Regions from separate parts of the Homo sapiens genome. Here regions 1, 2, 3, 4, 6 and 7 are each linked to region 5. The links are contacts of gene promoters, found by promoter capture Hi-C in blood cells and fetal thymus (Javierre and others, 2016). All regions are on one chromosome and are shown on one strand. The core of a region is centred on a gene start or on the middle of the fragment in contact, and the rest is flanking DNA. Distances in the headings are between cores, read along the strand shown.

Evidence for each region. Contacts are between HindIII fragments. The CHiCAGO score rates a contact against its expected background, and 5 or more counts as called.
Region 1: a fragment that was not itself captured here is called in contact with the fragment with the promoter of ETS1 in region 5 in 7 of 17 cell types (naive CD4 T cells, naive CD8 T cells, total CD4 T cells and 4 more); the score reaches 11.4 in naive CD4 T cells.
Region 2: a contact is called between a fragment that was not itself captured here and the fragment with the promoter of ETS1 in region 5, in 17 of 17 cell types (activated CD4 T cells, total CD8 T cells, total B cells and 14 more). The highest score is 36.3, in activated CD4 T cells.
Region 3: a contact is called between a fragment that was not itself captured here and the fragment with the promoter of ETS1 in region 5, in 15 of 17 cell types (activated CD4 T cells, non-activated CD4 T cells, naive CD4 T cells and 12 more). The highest score is 22.5, in activated CD4 T cells.
Region 4: a contact is called between a fragment that was not itself captured here and the fragment with the promoter of ETS1 in region 5, in 1 of 17 cell types (naive CD8 T cells). The highest score is 5.2, in naive CD8 T cells.
Region 6: a fragment that was not itself captured here is called in contact with the fragment with the promoter of ETS1 in region 5 in 1 of 17 cell types (naive CD8 T cells); the score reaches 5.4 in naive CD8 T cells.
Region 7: a fragment that was not itself captured here is called in contact with the fragment with the promoter of ETS1 in region 5 in 7 of 17 cell types (activated CD4 T cells, naive CD4 T cells, naive CD8 T cells and 4 more); the score reaches 13.1 in activated CD4 T cells.

The regions. Positions count from the first base shown.
Region 1 is chr11:128,115,115-128,117,918 of GRCh38, forward strand. All of the region lies in intron 2 of LINC02725 (long intergenic non-protein coding RNA 2725), which reads left to right. Among named protein-coding and RNA genes, the nearest start is that of LINC02725, 21 kb to the left of the region's middle. The HindIII fragment of the contact is 260 bases long and covers 1,181-1,440 here.
Region 2 is chr11:128,174,711-128,177,723 of GRCh38, forward strand. All of the region lies in intron 4 of LINC02725 (long intergenic non-protein coding RNA 2725), which reads left to right. Among named protein-coding and RNA genes, the nearest start is that of LINC02098, 33 kb to the right of the region's middle. The HindIII fragment of the contact is 382 bases long and covers 1,283-1,664 here.
Region 3 is chr11:128,155,890-128,158,865 of GRCh38, forward strand. The region is part of intron 2 of LINC02725 (long intergenic non-protein coding RNA 2725); the gene reads left to right. Among named protein-coding and RNA genes, the nearest start is that of LINC02098, 51 kb to the right of the region's middle. The HindIII fragment of the contact is 775 bases long and covers 1,240-2,014 here.
Region 4 is chr11:128,097,576-128,100,466 of GRCh38, forward strand. The region is part of intron 1 of LINC02725 (long intergenic non-protein coding RNA 2725); the gene reads left to right. Among named protein-coding and RNA genes, the nearest start is that of LINC02725, 3.3 kb to the left of the region's middle. The HindIII fragment of the contact is 6,858 bases long and covers 1-2,891 here.
Region 5 is chr11:128,585,728-128,588,820 of GRCh38, forward strand. It overlaps ETS1 (ETS proto-oncogene 1, transcription factor), which reads right to left and starts at 1,831. Exons shown (of 10, transcript NM_001143820.2): 1 at 1,761-1,831. LOC105369565 (a long non-coding RNA gene) reads left to right here. Exons shown (of 5, transcript XR_948163.3): 4 at 613-1,233. RefSeq lists a silencer at 1,784-1,990. The HindIII fragment of the contact is 9,036 bases long and covers 1-3,093 here.
Region 6 is chr11:128,130,784-128,133,932 of GRCh38, forward strand. All of the region lies in intron 2 of LINC02725 (long intergenic non-protein coding RNA 2725), which reads left to right. Among named protein-coding and RNA genes, the nearest start is that of LINC02725, 37 kb to the left of the region's middle. The HindIII fragment of the contact is 5,085 bases long and covers 1-3,149 here.
Region 7 is chr11:128,079,879-128,082,657 of GRCh38, forward strand. No RefSeq gene overlaps it. Among named protein-coding and RNA genes, the nearest start is that of LINC02725, 14 kb to the right of the region's middle. The HindIII fragment of the contact is 2,088 bases long and covers 457-2,544 here.

The DNA of each region.
Region 1 (2,804 bases), core at 61-2,560, 470 kb before region 5:
CAGTTCAGGTAGAAGTAAAGTACGTCAGATGAAGAGTTTGAGATATAAGAAGGAAAGCACAGCAAAAGAAAAAAATGATAAATACATGGATAAATATAATGACAATCAATTAGAAATATGTCTTTGGGATTTTTAAAAATGGAATTTAAATATATTACAATAGCATATCAATCAAGACTGATGAATAAAGCTAAAAATAAACGAAGAGGAGTGGGCAGGATTTCAGGAATGGCAGAATAAAGAGCTCTACAGACCCTCTCCAAGCAAAACAATTTAACTGGAAATTTAAAAAAAAAATCATTCATATATCTGGTGTTAAAGTCTCCTACTATTATTGTGTGGAAGTCTAAGTCTCTTTGTAGGTCTCTAAGAACTTGCTTTATGAATCTGGGTGCTTCTGTATTGGGTGCATATATATTTAGGATAGTTAGCTCTTCTTGTTGCTTTGATCCCTTTACCATTATGTAATACCCGTCTTTGTCTTTTTTTTTTTATCTTTGTTGATTTAAAATCTGTTTTATTAGAGACTAGTATTACAACCCCTGCATTTTTTTTGCTTTCCATTTGCTTGGTAAATATTCCTTCATCCCTTTATTTTGAGCCTGTGTGTTTTAATGAAAGATTTCTGCAAAGATGGGTAATTGAGGTAACACCAGAGAAATATACACACCTACAAAATAAAAACTAAAATATCTTAAAAAATAAAAATCAGCCTTGTGCAGTGGCTCACACCTGTAATCCCAGCACTTTTGGAAGCCAAGGCGGGTGGATCACCTGAGGTCAGGAGTTCGAGACCGGCCTGACCAACATGGTGAAACCCCATCTCTACTAAAAATACAAAATTAGCTGGGTGTGGTGGTGCATGCCTGTAATCCTAGCTACTTGGGAGGCTGAGGCAGGAGAATCACTTGAACCCAGGAGGCGGAGGTTGCAGTGAGCTAAGATCGTGCCATTGCACTCCAGCCTGGGCAACAGGAGCAAAACTCCATCTAAAAAATAAATACATAAAAATAAAAAATAAAAATTATTTAAATATCTGGAAATCGTCTAAGGGCATACAGCAAACAGGGAAATATTTATTTAAGAAAACCTACTTCGTATTTATTAGAATAATGAGAGTCTATGGTATTTGAGCTGCATCCTTCTCCCCTACCCCTCACACCCTTTTTTGTGTTATAGAAGCTTTAACTTGGGCACTCTATTCTGGGTAGGTGATGCCAACAAGACAGAAACTCCCTCTCCCCTCAGATTATAGTCTGGGAATATAGATTTTCCAGATACGTTCCAGAAGCCCTGTTCCAGGCAGTCATGGCTGAGAGGACTTTTCTCCTTTTCCCCACCCAGCCCCTACTCTTAGAGTGGAAGATCTACTTCAGGCATTTCAAGCTAAGAATACTGAGGTCCTAGTTGCTTTCCCCTACAGCTGGCTTGTAGGATGAAAGCTTAATGCCAGGAGAAGAAAGTTGAAAAGAAAAGAGGCTCTTAGCCACCCCCGACGCCCACTCAAAAAAGGGGTTTTATTTCCAAGAAAAGCAGTTCCCTCCCACAGCTCCAGTATAGTGGAGAAAGAGTTCTGCTTGGGCGGCGGAGGTTTGGCAGGGCAGAGAGGGACAGACTTGATTAGGAACTGAGTGTGGAGAATTCCACACTAAGTGCATTGTTGCAAATCATGGAAATATTCATGGAGACCAATTAAGAGGAGGCTGGCAGCTTCATAATACAAGCAAAACAGTAGAGCAGCCATAAATTTAATAGAGACAGCCAGGAAGATCCTTCCTAGAATCACCATCAGCACTAGGGTCTTAATGGCTGAGTGCAAGCTGTTGGCTGCATCTACAAGGGAGTAATCAGAGCAGGGCAGATTTGAAAGCATTTCCGAAGGTGCACACAGACCCATCAACATAGGGCGGAGGCGTCACTAGCACATAGATCTTAAACGCAACCTCTGACCAAACACTGACTGGCAGGAAGCCAAGCTTAAAAATAAAATCCTGCTCATCCCTGGAGATCTGTAAGACCGTGTGCGTGCTTAATAATGTGTCCCGTAGGAGCAATCAGAGAAAAAACCTTCAAGCAACTAGTCCCTGAGAAAATGTGGAGCAAGGAAATGTAAACTCTCTGAACTGTAATAGCAGCCTCAAGGCCACACATATATCCAATGGTGTAGGATAAAGCTCTCACTGGCTAACGAGATTGAAGCAGAACCTTTGATAAATAAGTGGCTTATGCCATCCTAGGGGACACTTCTAGACAAAAAGATAAAACCTTGCTTAAAGATAAAGCCAAGGGAGGAAACGCTGAGGAGGGTCATCTGAGGCTGCGCACTCTGGGGGAAATGAACATTGTAGAATTAGTTCAGCCAAGTCACAAAACAATAGACAACAAAACAACAACCACTCCTGAGGGAGAGGGAGAATCAGTATTCAGAGTTGCTACAATAGATTATCTAAAATAGGCAGTTTACCACAAAAATACTATAATACCTGCAAGAAAAAGAAAAGTGTTACCCACACACAGGAAAAAAAAATTTTTTTGACCCAAACCCATGACTTAGAAGTGGCTGAGAGGGTGGACTTAACTGGCAAACAGCCCAAGCAACCATTATAAATTTGTCCAAAGAACAAAAGAGGACCATGATTTAAAAAATGACGGTATGATAATAATATCTCATCAAATAGAAATTATTTTTTAAAAATTAAGTTAGTGACATTGCAAGCATAACAACCAAAATGAAAAATTCACTAGAGAGGCTAATAGTAGGTTGGAGAATCTACAAAGATTCTCAGAAGAATCAGCAAAGTGCA
Region 2 (3,013 bases), core at 224-2,723, 410 kb before region 5:
GGCCCTCTTATGGAAATCCTGTGAGGGGTGATCTCTGGTGACCAGGCTCAGCAGGAAGAGGAATGTGCATCCGACCTTGTGCGGAAGGTGTCCCCCAGCTGTTTTTGCAAATATCTGTTTTGTCACGGGGGTGGCTAGGTCACAAAACCTAGAGTGGCTCATGGCTTCATAGTAATATAAGTCTACCAACCTCCAAGACAGACTTCAAATCTCACTGTCAAAAGCACCTAATTGCTACATCTACTGAGCCCAGCAGGTCCTATGATAAAATTCAGTGCATTACATACTGACCTAATTCTTATCTATTCCTTTCCCAAACCCTTTTTCCATCTTCCTTTGCCTTCAAAATCAGGAATATGAAACTGTATCCATACAGCATTGCCATGTAAATTACTGGATGCACAGATACATTTGAATTGCAGATCAACAACTCATTTTTTAGTATAAGCACAGGACATGCTCACACTGAAAAATACTTGTTGTTTGTGTGCAATTCAAATGTGACTGGGCATTCTGTGTTTTTATTTGCTAAATCTGGTGACCCTAACCCATACAACAGCAAATCTATATTTTATTAAAGTATAAATGAGTACATTATTGTATATAACAGCTGTATTGAACGATTTTTGAATAGAAAAAGTCAAACTATGTTCCAAACATCTTTTAAATCTTTTTATAAGGCCAGGGATCCCTTTGTAATTAGTAAAACGAAAGCACCCCTGGATTTGTATAAACTCAGGTTTCCATACCTCAGATCCGTTTGAAGTGAAGCACTCTCAAATTCCCTCAGTTAGTGATAATGGTGGTCCTTACAGGAAGTACCTTTGTTTCATTCCCTAACATTTGTTTTCCTCACCAAGGTGTTACCATTAACTTTGAATGGGTCAAGTTCATGCTCCCCCAATGCTGCCTCTTTATTGACTTGTCCTGCTCTATGTGGATGAAGAGGCTCCAGAGATCCTAAAGCTGTACTCTGGACATAGCTTAGTGGCAAGCACAGGGAAAAGTGTACAGAGGAAGACAATAGGCTGGAATCGGAGGCTTCCAAAAATAAAATTGATTTTCTTTCTTTAAGAATTCCCAACTTTGTCTTAGGGACAAAGCCGCTGGATTTAGCAAATAAAAATACAAAGCACCCAGTTAAATTTGAATTTCAGATAAACAACAAGTAATGTTTTAATATAAATGTCTTGTGTATTGCATGAGATACCCTTATACTTAAACATTACTCATAGTTTATCTTAAGTTCAAATTTAACTGGCATCTTGTGTTTTATCTGGAAAGCTTACCTGGTAACATGGGGAGCTGCTTGCTGTCCTCAGCACTGAGGTGTAAAATATGTAGGATGACTGGCACAAAATAGGCAACAACAATAGCAACAAATAAACAGTCACAACAGCAGTAGCAGCACTCAACAAACGCCAGCCTGGATAGATTTCCTTTAAGGCCCAAGAAACGGTTTCCAAGTGCTCCTCTCAAGCTGGGCTCTTCCTTTATATTGCCCCCTGCTATGGTTTCAGTGTGTCCCCTCCAAAATTCAGGTGTTGCCTATGTGATGGTTTCAAGAGATGGGGTCTTTAAGAGGTAATTAGGTTTCTTCATCTGAAAAATGGAATTGATGATGGTAATAGCCTCCCAGCATTCATCCCAGGATATTCATGAGAAGCTTTACCATTCAAGGGCCTTGTGTATGTAAATGATTATGCTACACTTATTTTTCAGGTCTGGTTTCCTCTAATAATAGAAACAATAAACTGTTTGATATTTCTTGGCATCATTAATAAATCAAAAGTATGTTCCCCTTGTGTTCTATATTTTGCAAAATAATGAGGAAAAGAAAGAACAGGGTTACTGAGCTCTTCGTTGGAATTTTCAGGGAGTTTTGGGTAGAAATTAAAACCAAGAGTAATTAAAGCAGCAGTTCACTGACTGAATGATCATCAGACTCAACTGTAGACCAGGTAGAACTTGAACGCCCAGATCCAGCATACACTTGCTGAATTAGGATGTTTTGGGGTGTAACTTGGAAGTGTGTCCTTTGTAAAAGTTCCATAGGTCATTCTGATGATCAGCCAGGCTTGGGAATGACTGATCTAGGTGGAGGATAAATACGGGTTACCTGATCGATGTGATGTCTTAATTAGTAGATACATGTAACAATTGCTCCCTTTTCACCATTTCCACATGCCTTCCTCTCCCAGGAAGAAATGGCCACAACTCACCACTCACAACCCCAGATCTGTTTAGTTCCTTCATTCTTACCATGTTATAATCTGGCCAGCCAGAGGATTTAGGAATTGATTAATTTAGGAATCTAAATTGATAATTTAGAGAGATATCTAGGAGGTAAAAGTCAGGAGGATTTGATAGTAGATTGAAAGTGAAGAGGGAGAAGAAAATGGTAAGAAGAATGACCTGTTTTCTTGTTTGAGCAACAGAGTATGTGAACACATGGATCCTTCTCAGAGAGATGGAATTTAAAACAAGAGGGTGGAGTCAATTGTTTTAGTAGATACGTGTGACAATTATTCCCTTTTCACCATTTCCCCATGCCTTCCTCTCCCAGAAAGAAATGGCCACAACTAAGAAATAAGAAACAAGTTTGGAGATGCAGGCAAAGTCTCTATTCACCCACTCATTCAACCATCCAATTATATCCTTCAGCACTAACAGAGAAAAACCTCTTCAGACACTGGTGCTTTCCACAGCTCTTCTCAGGGGTCAGTCTGGTAATGAGTTTGGGACTTCAAAACATGCCATGCAGCCAGGCAAACTGCTCCTCTATAGTAGTCATGAGGACCTCCACACTCCTGAGCCCAACAGACATCTTTCAATTCTCATGGTACCTGACAACTGCATTGCATTTGATAGGGTTCTTTCCATTCTCCTGGTTTATTTTCATTTCTCCAAATATAGTTTTTTTTCCCTATCACGTCCTCCACCAATTTGACCTCTTCAGTTGGAATTCCTCAAGCCTCAGTTTTGAGCCCCCTTTTCCTCTTACTCTATGCTT
Region 3 (2,976 bases), core at 377-2,876, 430 kb before region 5:
TGTTTGTTGCTTGTCATAGATCCTACCCCTTTCTGAAATGGCATGACTCTATAGGAGGTCCCAGGCCTGGTATCCTGGTTATTGGCTGACTGACCAATTGCTTTCTAACTTAGTTTCAGATTTGTTTTTCTGTGAATTCAAGAAAAAGGAGTGGTATTTGCTGGCAATTTTGCTGTGCAAGTACCTTGCATTTTAACCTTCTGGGACCGTTGTCCCTTTATTTTTATATTGACTTTGTTTAGTTGGTTAATTAATTTGTGAGTTAATAGCTTTGTCAGAGTACAAAAAGATAAGCATATATGGAAAGCTGAGATGCAGTTTGTTAGTGTATGTTCATTTTAATCTCTAAACTTTAAACCAATTCTGTTTTTCTTCTAACATTTCAAATTACTTTAAAAGTGTTAAATTATTTATCGTCAAGGAAGACGCCATCACAAGAACAGTGTTTTCTCCTCCGTCAGTGGATTAGGAATCAGAAGATCTGAGATGTATTTCTCTTTTACCACTGACTTATTCTATTGCGTATTTTTGGAATGTATTTGCTCATTTCTTACTTTACAAATTCTAGAGGGAACACACAATCTATTCCATGTGCTCTCTTTTGAGCACTAGATAAGGAAAGGTTTTTTTTTTTTTTTGGCAGATGATTGATTAGTTTACAAGTATCCTTCTTCAACAGTAGATATACCATGGCAGGGAAGTAGAACCACTGTCCAAGGTTACCTAGAAGCCAGTGACCAAACTAGACTTCGGGCTTTCATCTTGTGAGTCACAGTGTTACAATCACTAATCCCCATTATCAATGAGGCATGAAGTTGTGTATGTAGAACACTGTAACAGTCACCAGGGCAGCACACTCAGTTCAACATTACTTACCTTGGGTTCTATGCCAACGTCCTCAAGCATTTTAAGAAAATGGCTTAGAGCTTAAGTCGTACAATGTAAAAAGCTGATAAAAGATTGTCCCTATGTCAGTTTCAACTTTGCCCTCAAATGCCAACAGCAAGGACACCTTCATGAGCAACTGGCCCTAGGACTTAGAGAGGCTACTAAGTGGCTGTAGGAACCATGACACTCTGACATTCCTGGCCCAAGTAGAAATATGAAAACCTAAGCATGGTGGGTTGAAACTTCATGAATGTCTCTCGACCCTGAAATGGGTTGCAGGTGTTTGTCTCAAAGACGAGAACAGATAATGAATAAAACATGCCTGGAGCTTTGTGTTCAGAAAATGTGACAAGCTTGAATCTGATGACTTCAGGAATGAGATGAAATATGAGTTTGAGCTCATCTGCAAAGCTCTTAACGAATCCAAGATGTCGTTGCTGGTATTGCTGCTCATGGACTACAGTTTGCCCCAGGTTTATGGGAGGATAGGGGTGGAAACGAAGGGGGTGAAAAGATCTGGAAAAGAAAAGAATGAGGAGGGAAAAAGAACATGAAAGCAAGTTTTGACTGCAGATCTTTAAGGGAGAGCTCTCCCTGGAAATCTCACTGAAGACTAAATTTGACCTTTATTTTGAGCCCATAGAAGAGAGATGAAGATAAAAATACTCTGCAGATCAATGTATTGTATAAATATACTCAGCTTTATGGACTCTGAGGTTATTGCATTTCTATATCATCACTGATTCCACTTTTGCTTTAGGTAGTAAAATAGAGACTATTCTTATCATATTTTCATCTAAAATTGCACATTTAAGGTCAAGTTATCTCTTACCACATGAAAAGCTATACTTACACATATGGAAAGTAAGATAACTTTTTGTGACTATTCTTTTTTCCATGGGACATTATCTTATTTCACACATGTGTTACTGCAAATCTTTTGAAGAGAGAGATGGATTGACACTAAGATTTTAAATTCTGTCTTGGATTGTCACACTTAGTAAATTTCTGTGGAAATTCCAATTGTTGGTTTAGGAAAATTCCAGCAGGTGGAGCTGTAACAGCGCTCAATTTCAACAGAGTTCTCTGTTATTGGCAAGATGGTCTGGAGCCAATATGGACTCCAAGCTTCTGTTTGTGAACTCTGTACTCTCAGTGAAGGGCTCTCTCTATCTGAACTCTTGCTATATTCAAGAAAAGCTGGTAATTTTGGACCCTAACTCAATCCTTGATATTTTGGGGTCTCCGGAGAATCACATAGTTGAGGTACTAGTTAGCACTCTCACTGGAAAAAGCAATTTGATAACGGCCCCCTAGTGGTCTAAACTGGTACATGTGGCTTTGTAAATGCCAACCCACCCATTCATTAGACCTCTGAGGGCACAGAGATGTTTTCAATCATTGGCTCTGTCGTTTTGACTTTTCTCGCCAAAAGCTTAAGGGAAGAAAAAGTGTGTGATACATAAATACAAAACATGCAACAGTCAGTGGGACAACTCCAAGTGCCACTATTTATTAATTTTATAATATTAGGAAGTTCGCTTTTCCCTGAGCCTCAGTTTTTTAAATTTCCCAAACCAAAATGAAAACAACATCTACTGCAAAGGATTGTTGTAATGGGGAGCAAACGACATGATACACATGAGAGAATATGTGATACACTTGAGAATGTTTGATAGAACATATTGTGCATACCAGGTTGTTTTTTATTATTAATAGTAGTACTGTTGATTTTATCAGGATGAAGAATGATCTCAGGGCTTCTATGTAGAGCTCATCTCAATGGATCAAACTATAAGGAGACAGACCTCCCCTCTGTGCTCAAATTATAAAGTCCATTCCATTCTGTACATATGGGTCTATCAGCCTGCAAGTTCATTACAGATTTTTCTCATCAGTCTTGCCAAACTCCTTAAGGTCAGGGACCATAAGATTTTTGTTTCTTTTACCAAAGCATTTGGCATGATGTTTGGTTCATTGTGGTTATCCCACAATGTCTGTGGACTAAGTATCACTGAGTAAAGTACAACATTACATTTGTAAAGGGAACTCTCTCATTCCACTTATTTATTCCTACCTAGGAGTAAA
Region 4 (2,891 bases), core at 76-2,575, 490 kb before region 5:
TAGAAAATATTTTTAAAGTTCTCATTGCTTTCAATTCGTAAAATATTAAAAGAAATATTTTATTGCATTGACTATGTGAAGAAGTCAGTATACATTCAATTCTTCCTGAATATCTTTTTCAATTTTAGTTACTTTAATCTCTTATTTTACATCTTGCTTATTATTTTTTCATAGGAATAATTTTATTTCAAAAATAATTTTAGACACCTAAATTCCATTTGTGACCATATTAACAACAATTATTTATTATTTGCCTATACCATTTTTTACCATGAGTACTATAGTAGCATAACTTATCCATTCTTGAGTTATTTTTTTTCTTCTCTTATTCAACAGAAATAGTTCTCTGAGCAATTTTTACTTTGAAAGGGAATTGAGTAGAGTACTTTATAAAAATTATTACAAACGAAATTTTCTTCCCTTTAGGAGGAAGGGATCAGTGAACATTTGGTTGTATGGCAATAGTTGTATCATGTTGTGTGGAATTATGATGTTGTTGCTGTCTTTATCTGGAGATTAAGTAGGATTTAAGGAGATATATATGCCAAGTTGACAGGGTGAATCAAAGAACAGAGTTAGTAGAAAAGAATATAGAGTTCCTTTTTTCCATGTTCTCAGTTACATGTGGGCATTCAATTCACCTAGCATTTTTGTGTTTTGTCTTTATACCCAAAGAGTTATGAGTGTAATTACATCACCATTTTCTGAAAGAAAATGCCAAAAGTATGATGTCAGCTGAAATTTTTACCTTTATGAACATATATTTTTTCTACCTGGATTCTTAAAAGATGCTATTCCTATTAAAAATTAACATAAATGCACTAACAAATTTCTATTTCTTTAAATTTGACTTTTAGTTATCTATTTCATTATGAAAACTTAAATTTTTATTTAAATTATAAACATTTTAAATTACTTTTTATTATTTCATACACTATATCTCTTGTACTCACCTCTTTTGAATTTCCAATTTTATGTAAAATATTTAAAAGCACATATACATTGTATATTTTCTCATTATTTTTGTTCTTTTTTTCTGAGGTTTGTGAGAATTTTTTCATTATGCTTATATCATGTATTCAATTTTAATCCAAATATAAACTCCTACTCATTGCCTCAATTACAGTTTTACTTAACAGAAAAGTCATATATTTTTGTCTCTCCTGATGTTAGATTTTTCCTCCTTTATAACTATAGTTAAATTAACAAATTAAAAAACATTTTTAATATGGCTGTATTAGTCCATTTTAAATAACTTCCTGAGACTGGGTGATTTCCAAAGGAGTTTAATTGACTCACAGTTCAGCATGGTTGGGGAGGCCTTAGGAAACTTAGAATCATGGTGGAAAGGGAAGGGGAAGCAAGGCACCTCTTTCACAAGGCAGCAAGGAGGAGAAGTGTCTCCTGAAGGGAGAAGAGCCCCTTATTAAACCAGATCGCATGAGAACTCACTATCATGAGAGCAGCATGGGGGGAACCACCCCTGTGATTCAATTACCTTCACTTGGTCTCTCCCTTGACACCTGGGGATTATGGAAATTATGCAGATTATAGTTCAAGATGAGATTTGGGTGGGGGAAGTAAACCTAGCCATATCAGTGGGTAGGAACATAAATTTTTCCTATTAATGAAGAGCTGTTTCATGGAAAATATTTGTTCTGACTTCACAGACAGATATCATTTTTTTTAACTGCATTGTGTTTTCACAAAATAGTATTTTTTCTCTCCTAATTCTTATAAAGGATTAACTATATTTAAACAGGATTTAGAGTTCAAATTGAGGCGAACATCTCTATTAGGCAGTGTCATGTTCAGATGATACATGCTTAGATGATACTTAACAATTTAAGAACAAAGGTCATGGGCAGATATGCAGGAAAAATAGAGACTTAAAGTGGGGACAATGGGATTAGATGACAAATATCTGTTTTCTAGTTACAGTAGTGTTCTGAAGCCAGTTGAGGTCTGACTGCCTGTTAGTAGCCAGCCTTGGAAATGTCTCATTTTTTAATCTCCCATGGTCATCTATGGGAAGTGGGGTATAAGTGCTGCTGTGTGTAACCTGGCTGGACTGGCCTATGAAACTGTGCCTTTTCCAGAAGTGGCTTTGAGATCCAAATGTAGCATTAGCCCAGTCCCTGCTCCACTTCTTGCTGCTCTGAATTAACATTGATATTAATATACTGATGCGATCTGTCATGTGTATGTCGGGCAAATATTCTTACTTAAGTGGACAGCCAATGATCAGGCTACCTCTTCCACTATAGCATAAGTTACCAGCAAATTTTTTAAAATTCCTAGCATTAGGGTGCTATCTTTTTCTAGTTTTCAGAATAGAGTCTAGAATTTCCCTTTTTTTATATTTTTGGTTACTTTCATGAGAATGATGTACATGGACCTTCAGGTGTATGTGCTCAAGTTTCCATTTTCTCTATATCCTACAGTGTGTTTTTGTTTGTTTTATTGGAAATATTATGTTGCTGCCCTACTTAAAATTCTTCAGTATTTTTCCATTGTCTGGAAGTTAAATTAAAATTATTTAGGAGGGCACTTATAGCCTTTTAAAATCAAATCATTATGCATTTCTGCTACATGGAATCTCATGTTGCTGATCCATGACCTTAAACTCCAGCCTGCAGAGTACTTTGTTTATATTTATCCAGTATCTTGTCTAATCATTTGACCACAAATATCTTTAGCCTGGCATGCAATCCAATTGCCACAATTCTCTTTACTCCCCATTTTTTTATACCATGTCCTTCCTATTTTTAAATTTTCTGTCTGAGCACTGATGGCTTTTGAGTTTGCCATTTCTCTTCTTATTCTTTATCTTTCCATTTTTCTATTTCCAGTATTTCATTCGCTGTAGAGCTATTCTCACTTCCCTGTGC
Region 5 (3,093 bases), core at 581-3,080:
AACCAGGCGGGGCGCAAATGATTGCTCACCTTTTAGAGATGAAGGGAAGAAGGCACAGACACGTTCAATCCCTGTTCTCTGTTACAAAGCTAATCACTGACATAATCCAAGTGCACAGCCACTTTCCCTTCTCCGACCCAGCGCTGGTTCAAGTTCTGACCCCACTTGCCTTTGAACTCCATTATCGTCCGGGACCGGCCACTGGCCCAAGTCGGTGCTCTGGCCACAGACTGCCAGATGCCAAAGGATCCCACCCCTCTACCAGCTTCCCCCAGGCTCTGCCTCAGGACATCCTTTCACAGCCAGCAACTAGCACCTCCGTGTAAGGAGCCTGCCGGGCAAAGATGCCCCCTCCATAATTAGGCTCTCGGCTTGGCTTCCCACATCCTCAGCAGCGGAACCAGGACGGAAGAGGCTGCATGGATGCCTGAACTGTTTGTTATTTCACTATTGAGTTGGCAAGGATGGAAGTAGTTGATTTACAATTAGAAGCAGCATGCTTCTTCAAATATTAATATTAATAACTGCACTACTGAACACATGAAAAGACCTTTTCATCTTCAAAGCACTTTGCAGACATTAACCCATTAGCTCTCCCTTCCCTCCATTCAGGAACAACAGGTGAGCAAGACTCTCAACAGCAGCAGTGGCCACCCTGCAGCCCTTGTGCACAGCCCACGGCCCCTGAAGAAAAAGCGTTTTCTCTTTGGATAAAAATAGGCCACCAAACCCAAAACCACAACTGATGAAAGAGTTATAGTATCAGTAATTTTACAAATCAAATGGAGCTGATGGAGTTATCATTTTAGAATTGGTATTTCCTGCTGTTTAACAAATACTTTTTTCTCAGTTGCATGGCAGTGGTCTAAAGTAAGAAGGAAAATGGACTTGAGATTAAAAACAAAAACTTACCCAAAAGGTGATAAAGAAATCCTGCAATAGAATGCATTGATTTCAGTGACCCAGCACCCTTTTAAGTTTGCCTGAAGAAAATACTACTTTAAAAGTTGGTAACAGAGACCTTTAACGGTGGGTGAGGAGTCACATACAAAGTGTCACGGCCAGATAAAATCACCGGATGCAGAGGAATTGCCATCGACATCTCCTGCCACTGAGTCCAGCTCTACCGTGGGGACAAGAAATACCTCCCTAACTCTGAGACAACCGCGGCCCACACCCACACCATGTCTCAACAACAGACTTAGGAACTTGTAGATCTTTGGACAACTGCAGGTCAGTCCCAAGACAGAGAAAAACACCAAACAGGCTAGTTTGGCTAGCAAGATTCAAACCTGTAGCAATTTCCTCTCTATTAAAAGCAATTCATTAAACTACTAGCAGGAGAAAAAAGTAAAACAATAGATTTACTAGGAGTGAAAGAGAATAAAAAGAAATTTATATATTTAACTACAGCTTTATTTCTTTGGAAGTGCTCCAATTTGCAAAAAAAAAAAAAAAAAATCAGGGTTTCTGACAAGTAATCTACGGGTATCTAAAACGTGCATGGTTTTACTTTTGTGAAGCAGGGAACATTTTTAAAAACATAGTCTTGCTTTCAGACTATTCTGACGAGGTTAGGAAGTATTTTTGAAAATTGTTAAACAATTAAATGGGAATATAGAAAGACGTGAAAAGAGAAAGAGAAAACTCACTTGTATCCTGAATCTCCCTACCGACTTACTCTTTAATTCCACAGAAATTTTTTTAAAGCAGGAAAAGGAAAATGGACTGAAAAGTTTTAGGCAGAAACTGACACACACCTCACTTACTACTTTGCCGGAGAGCAGATCCTGAGTGAGCTTCCCTCAAAGTCTGTGGTCTCTTTCCAACTACCTGCGGGAATCCTCTGCTCCGTAGCTTAAGAGGATGCAAAGACCATAATGTTTCTAATAGAGCTGCCTCCTTAAATTGGGGGGTGTGGTCAAGCCAGGGAAAGCTGGAAAAAAGGCAGTCTTCCTCTTGCCCCTGGCACCAGGACAGCAGCCACTGGCACAGGCACAGCAGTCTAGGTGGAAAGCACTGTTGATTGACAGTGGTGGCACCAAATCACACATTATTTCGTATTCTTCAAATTGTGCTTCAGCTGAATATAACTCAGCCTTGGAGAGTAACAGGGAGGGAGATGAGCAAAAGGGAACTAGTTCAGTGGGATAACACTGTATCTCACCTCATCATTTGCTGATGCATTTACTCTCTGCTGAATATGTAAATATTCATGCTTCATGTTCCTTGACTTTCTCAATGGAGCCCCCATTAACCTAGGCAAGGTCTCAGGTGAGGGAAAGGGATTGCTTTAGAAACACAGGACGTCCACCACCCAGTCACCTGCTCAGGCTTCCCGTTTCTCTCTAATAACTTGATATGAAATGTGATATTTTCTAAAGAAAAGAAAATAATTTTGTGGAAGAGAGCTGACTGGATATGGACTTGGGATTTCTGAAAAGTAAAGCTAAAAATCCCCTTTTCATATAAGTCTGGTTTTAGGCAATCTCTAAAATAAGGATACTTTTAGCAGCCCTGACTCATGGTCCGTGGTGCAGGAATAAAAGGGCAGAAGTGTTCATACATTTCTCATTTAGGGAAAATGTAAACAATATGAAAATCTTACATCTGTCCTAAGTGAAAATACACAGCATCTTTTATTCACATATTCAGGACTATGGTAAGAATGTTACAGCATAATCTCATTTCTATGAATGGAGTTATTACAATTTTTTTTGAGAAGTCAGTATTTGGCTGCTTAATCTAAGACTTTTATCCTAAAAGATTCCATCTTCTTTGAGTAGGAGGTGGGAGTTAAGATTTGTCATAGTTGGCTTCTTTCTCTTTTTAATAAAGATACAAACTTAGAAAATCCTTGAAAATCTAATAACTGTCATTTGGAGCCATATCATCATCAGCCTTCATTGTATAAAGCTGGCAATGCAGTTAAGATGACATTGTAAGTAAAGCAAGATTTTACTGCTCATCTTCTGCCTTTGCACATTAACTTGGAAGTAAGGAAGAGGTAATGCTATTGGTTCACTTTAGTTTAATAAATTGCCTGTGCCAGGCACTGTTCTAGGCACTAGAAAGATAGCAAGTTTGCATTGT
Region 6 (3,149 bases), core at 403-2,902, 460 kb before region 5:
CAAGCAGAGGCTAACTGAACAAAAGGCAGCAGGATGATAGGTGGTGTAAATTTCCCAACTCCTTCTGCTTTTCATTCAGCTAAGCATACTTCAGCCTCTTAAAAACAATGTGATTTCTTGATGTTCTATCGAAATTTGCAGAGCTTCTTTTGAATCACCTCATTATAGCTGCCCCCTTCCACCTTGACTAAAATAGGAAAACAAAACAAAACAAAATAAGAGCTAAAATTCCAGATGGCTTATGTGTTTGAGGCTTTTATTTGTTTTCATTTTGTTGTTGTTGTTATGGTGAGTGAAGACCAATGGAAGTTGTACAAATCCAGTCTCGGGTCTCTACCTTACTGACTTGTTGAGAACCCCACTCTCACCAGAAAAGCAAGGCTGACAGAGTATATGAGCAGGATGAATTCTGGCTCAAAAATCCACAAAATGTCAGTGTCCGAAGGGCATACAAGATTATCTAGTGTATCCTCCGTACTTTAAAAACTGAAACCAAGTGAGGTGAACAATTTGCCCATGGTTTCTTGAGGCTGAACAAAATTTTGCATCCCTTTGATCTAATGCTTCTTCCTTTAATTTAAAGTGGTGTGAATTTTAAGCAAAATAAAATTCCACATGCTTCTGATAGGGTTGCATTCACTGCGTCCAAAAAATCATTTAGTCTGAGGCTGTCAGTGATCAAGCCACCCTCTGAGCCTCTTTACAGGCATTTAAACCTATTGGAAATGTAAAACGGTATTTTTGCCAAAGCAAAGTAAAATCCCCTTGAACTGGGGCTTTTGTAGTGAGAGACAGAGAGAGAGAGAAAGAAACAGAGAGAACTGAAGTGGAAAAAAGCAGAAGACAGATGATAAGAATTTGTATCTAAATATTATCTTTTATTATCTTTTTATAAATTGAAGCTGTGTTTTCTTGCTCCTGTTGTTGTCTGATAAAGTCTGGCATAAGACACTGTGCCTTCCAGGTTAGTCTGAGGACAGGAGGCTTAGAGGTCCCTTTTCCGGAGCCACCAGATCCAGTACAGATAATTGACCATTGCTTCTCTTAGGGAGAGCTCTGTGACCACTTGATCACGGAACTTGCTTGATGTTGACAAAAATGCCCATGGATCTGTTAGGAACTGGGCTCACACAATCATTTATTTTCCCAAGTTCACTTCTGAATCATAACAAACCCTCAGTGGGCTCCAGAGAGACAGAGTTAAATAGTTTCCTCTATTCATCATTCTGGAGCTTAGAAACAATTAGCCCAACTAAACCGTATTTGTTCTATTAGAAATAGAAATGGTGGGTAGCTCTTCGCAAGAGCACACAGAGTCTGAAGCCAATTGACCCTGAAAATCATGCCAAACACAGAGAAAACCTTTCAGAGGGGCTGATCACCCCTCAAAGGTGGGGCCCAGGAAAGGGCCTGTGAATGTCAGGAGATAAAGTGACGCAGACACCAGAGGGCATTACTGGGACACTGTCACCATGCTACCTCCTACCTTCCCACTGCTCAACTCCCTCATCCAATATTGCTCCAAAGGAACAACTGTTGACCATCCCCAGGCTCTTAGCAATGTTTTGGCTTGAGAGACTCATTTGCCAAGTGGTTCGCGGCCTTATGGCAAAGTAATTGGGTTTCTCCCTTTTGATCCACACAGTCCAATAAAGACTATAAATACTTGCTTTTCCCCTTGAAAGCCCCCCCTTCCTGATTTCACCTGGGCACACATTTAAGTTTGGAAAGAGGAGGATGAAGTAGTGATGTGATGTGGGCCTGTAGTCTTGTCAAGGCGAGTGCTCCTTGGAGATGGCTCTGTCGGAAAGAGAATGTGATGGTTCTCGGGGGTAGATGGAAGAACAGGAGGTGTAGTCCTGTGAGAGGGCCCAGGTGACTGTACAGCTACTGCTCTATTTCCAAGGGGGAGAAATCATCACTGGAGAGGCCAGTTCTTGTGCAACTTCAGCCTCCATTTTCAAATGAGGGCACAGGGGATGCCCTCATTTGAAGGCGTTAGGATTAGGGGCAGCTGGAGGAGGTGCTCCAGCCCTCATTTCTTCATTTCCAGACCATTTGTCATTTAATACTTATTCAAGCAGGTTTCTCATTCTGGGCCCTAGGGGCATTTTGAACCAGATAATTCTATTTCATGGGAAGCTGTCCTGTACATTATAGGATGATGTTTAGGGGCATGCCTGGTCTCTACTCAATAGATGTCAGTATCAAATCTCACTTTTTAATGATGTGACAACCAAAAACCAAAAATGTCTCAAGAGATAGCCACATGTCCCCTCGAGAGTAAAATTGCCTGAGAAGAATCAGTGGCCTAAAGGATCCAAATGCATTTTACAGGGCTCACCAATGACCTGCAGTTTGGACCAAAAGCTGCACTCAGAAGATTTAGACCCAAGCCAGTTCTGACCACCACCTGTCATTCCCACTGGAAAGGCACCCCAGAACCCAGGCACAGTTGTGCCAGAGCCCCACTCTAGGCTCCCTTATTCTTTCCCCGTTCCCACACAGATATGGGCTCTTCTGCCTGCCCTTGGAGTCCTCAGCCTAGTTTTAGAAGATCCAGAAAAGGAAACAAATAAAAATAAACAAAGGGGTAGACATGAGCAAGGGAGAAAGCAAAATATTTAAAAGTAAACAGTCTGGGGGTAGTGAAAAAAATGTCTCTCTCTCTTCTCTCTCTCTCTCTCCCTCTCTCTGTCTTTAATAGAGCTCCTGGGCTTTCTCAAGTCAGCCGCTGCCTGAGTCTGGTTTTCATTTGCAGGCCCCCTCAACTTCACTTCTTCTCATAGATAATTTGACTTGATTACTTTCTGAAAGGGCAGACAGAGCTGGAGCAGCTTTGCACTCATTTACTTGTCACTCCTAGCACTGGCTTAATTTGGCTTGAGCTGCACCTCCCCCTCCCAGGAATGATTGTGAGGCTGGGATCCAACTTCCAGTGGAAGGGCTGGGAGGACATGGGCAGTCTGGCCCACTCTGTCCAAATTAGGCAGGCAGGCCCTTGCACGTAGAAAGGCTGACACCCTTTGACAGAAAAGGAATGGTAGCTTAACAAAAGGCTGAAGCGGTCAATTCCCCACCAGAATGAATTTTGACTTTGTCCCTTGATATCAACATCAGCTAGGAATATAAAATAAAACTTGGGGATA
Region 7 (2,779 bases), core at 251-2,750, 510 kb before region 5:
TGATACTAAAACCTGGCAGAGACATAACATAAAAAAGAAAACTTCAGGTCAATATCCTTGATGATCATAGATGCAAAAATTCTTAACAAAATATTAGCAAACCAGCCAGGTGTGGTGGCACACAATGGTAGTCTCAAGTACTCAGCAGACTGAGGTAGGAGGATAGTTTGAACCTGAGAGGCAGAGGTTCCAGTGAGCTGAGATCACACCACTGCACTCCAGCCTGGGCAACAGAGTGAGACTATCTCAAAAACAAAACAAAACAAACAAACAAAAAACCTCTAAATATTAGCAAGCCAAATCTAGCAGCACATCAAAGAGTTAATCCACCACAATCAAGTAGGCTTTATCCCTGGGATGCAAAGGTGGTTCAACAAATGCAAACCAATAAATGCAATTCGCTGCAAAAACAGAATTAAAAACTAAAACCATATGATCATCTCAAAAAACACAGAAAGCTTCTAATAAAATCCAACATCCATTTTCATGATAAAAACCATCAACAAACTGGGTATCAAAGAAACATACCTCAAAATAATAAGCACCATCTACGGTAAACTCACAGCCAACATCATACTGAATGGGTAAAAACTGAAAGCATTACCTTCAAGAACTGGAACAAGACAAACATGCTCCCTCTCATCATTCCTATTCAAAATGGTACTGAAAGTGATAGCCAGAGCAATCAGGCAAATGAAAGAAATAAAAGGCAACCATATAGGAATATAAGAAGTCAAACTATCCCTCTTCACTCATGGTATGATTTTTTTTATGCTTATTGGCCACATGTTATGTCTTCTTGTGAAAAATACCTGTTCATGTCCTTTGTCCACTTTTTAAGGGGGTTGTTTGTTTTTTTTTCTGGTTAATTTGTTTAAGTTTCTTTTAGATCCTAGATATTAGACCTTTGTTGAATGCATACTTTGCAAATATTTTCTCCCATTCTGTAGGTTGTCTGTTTACTGTGTTGATGGCTTCTTTTGCTTTGCAGAAGTTCTTTATTTTAATTAGGCCCGAATTTTTCAATTTTTGTTTCTGTTGCCATTACTTTCAGCATCTTTGTCATGAAATCTTTGCCAGGGCCTATGTTCAGAATGGTATTTCCTAGGTTATCGTCCAGAGTTTTTTAAATTTTAGAGTTTGCATTTAAGTCTTTAATCAGCCTTGAGTTGATTTTTGTATATGGTGTAAGAAAGGGGTCCAGGTTCAATCTTCTGAATATGGCTAGCCAGTTATCTCACCACCATTTATAGAATAGGAAGCATTTTCCCATTGCTTGTTTTTGTCAACTTTGTCAAAGATCAGATGGTTGTATGTGATTGGCATTATTTCTGGGCTCTCTATTCTGGTCTACATGTCTGTTTTGTACAAGCACCATGCTGTTTTCATTACTGTAGCCCTGTAGAATAGTTTAAAGTTGGATAGTGTGATGCCTTCAGCTTTATTCTTTCTGCTGAGAATGGTCTAGGCTATTTGAGATCTTTTAAAATTTTTTGGTTCTATATGAATTTTCAAATAGTTATTTCTAATTCAGTGAAGAGTGTCATTGGTAGTTTGATAAGAATAGTAGTAAATCTATAAATTGCTTTGGGCAGTATGGCCATTGTAAAGATAATGATTCTTCCTATCCATAAGCATGGAATATTTTTTCATTTATTTGTGTCATTTCTTTTAGCAGTTTTGTAGTTCACTTTGTAGAGATTGTTTACCTCCTCATTTAGCTGTATTCCTAGATACTTTGTTCTTTTTTTGCTACTGTTTATGTGATTGCATTCTTGATTTGGCTTTCAGCTTGGATGTTGTTAGTGTATAGAAATGCTACTGATTGGCCAGGCATGGTGGCTCAAGCCTGTAATCCCAGCAATTTGGGAGGCCACGGTGGGTGGATCACAAGGTCAGGAGTTCAAGACAAGACTGACTAATATAGTGAAACCCCATCTCTACTAAAAATACAAAAATTAGCCAGGTGTGGTGGCAGGCACCTGTAGTCCCAGCTACTCGAAAGGCTGAGACAGGAGAATCGCTTAAACCCGGGAGGTGGAGGTTGCAGTGAGCCAAGATCGCACTACTGCACTCCAATCTGGGTGACAGAGTGGGACTCCATCAAGAAGAAAGAAGGAAGGAAGGAAGGAAGGAAGGAAGGAAGGAAGGAATGAAGGAAGGAAGGAAGGAAGGAAAGAAGAGAGAGAAAGAAAGATGAAAGAAAAAGAGAAAGATGAAAGAAAGAAAAAAGAAAGAAAAAGAAAGGAAAGAAAGAAAAAGAAAGGAAAGAAAGGAAGAAATGCTATTGATTTTTGTGCATAGAATTGTAGCCTGAGACTTTGCTGAAATTGTTTATCAGATCTATAAACTTTTGGGCAGAGACTATGGAGTTTTCTAGTATAGAATCATGTCTGCAAACAGATATTTGACTGCCTCTCTTCCTATTTGGATGCCTTTTATTTATCTGTCTTGCCTGATTGCCCTGGCCAGGACTACCAATATCATGCTGAATAGAAGTGGTGAGAGTGGGCATCCTTGTCTTGTTCTAGTTCTCATGAAGAAAGCTTATAGCTTTTGCCCATTAAATTTGATGCTGGCTATGGGTTTGTCATAAATAGCTCTTATTATTTCGAGGTATGTTTCTTCATTGATTAGTTTTTTTTTAGGGTTTTTAACATGAAAAGCTGTTGAATTTTATCAAAAGCCTTTTCTGCTTTTACTGAGAAAATTATAAGGTTTTTTGTTTTTAGTTCTGTTTATGTGGTGAATCACATTTACTGATTTGCATATGTTGACC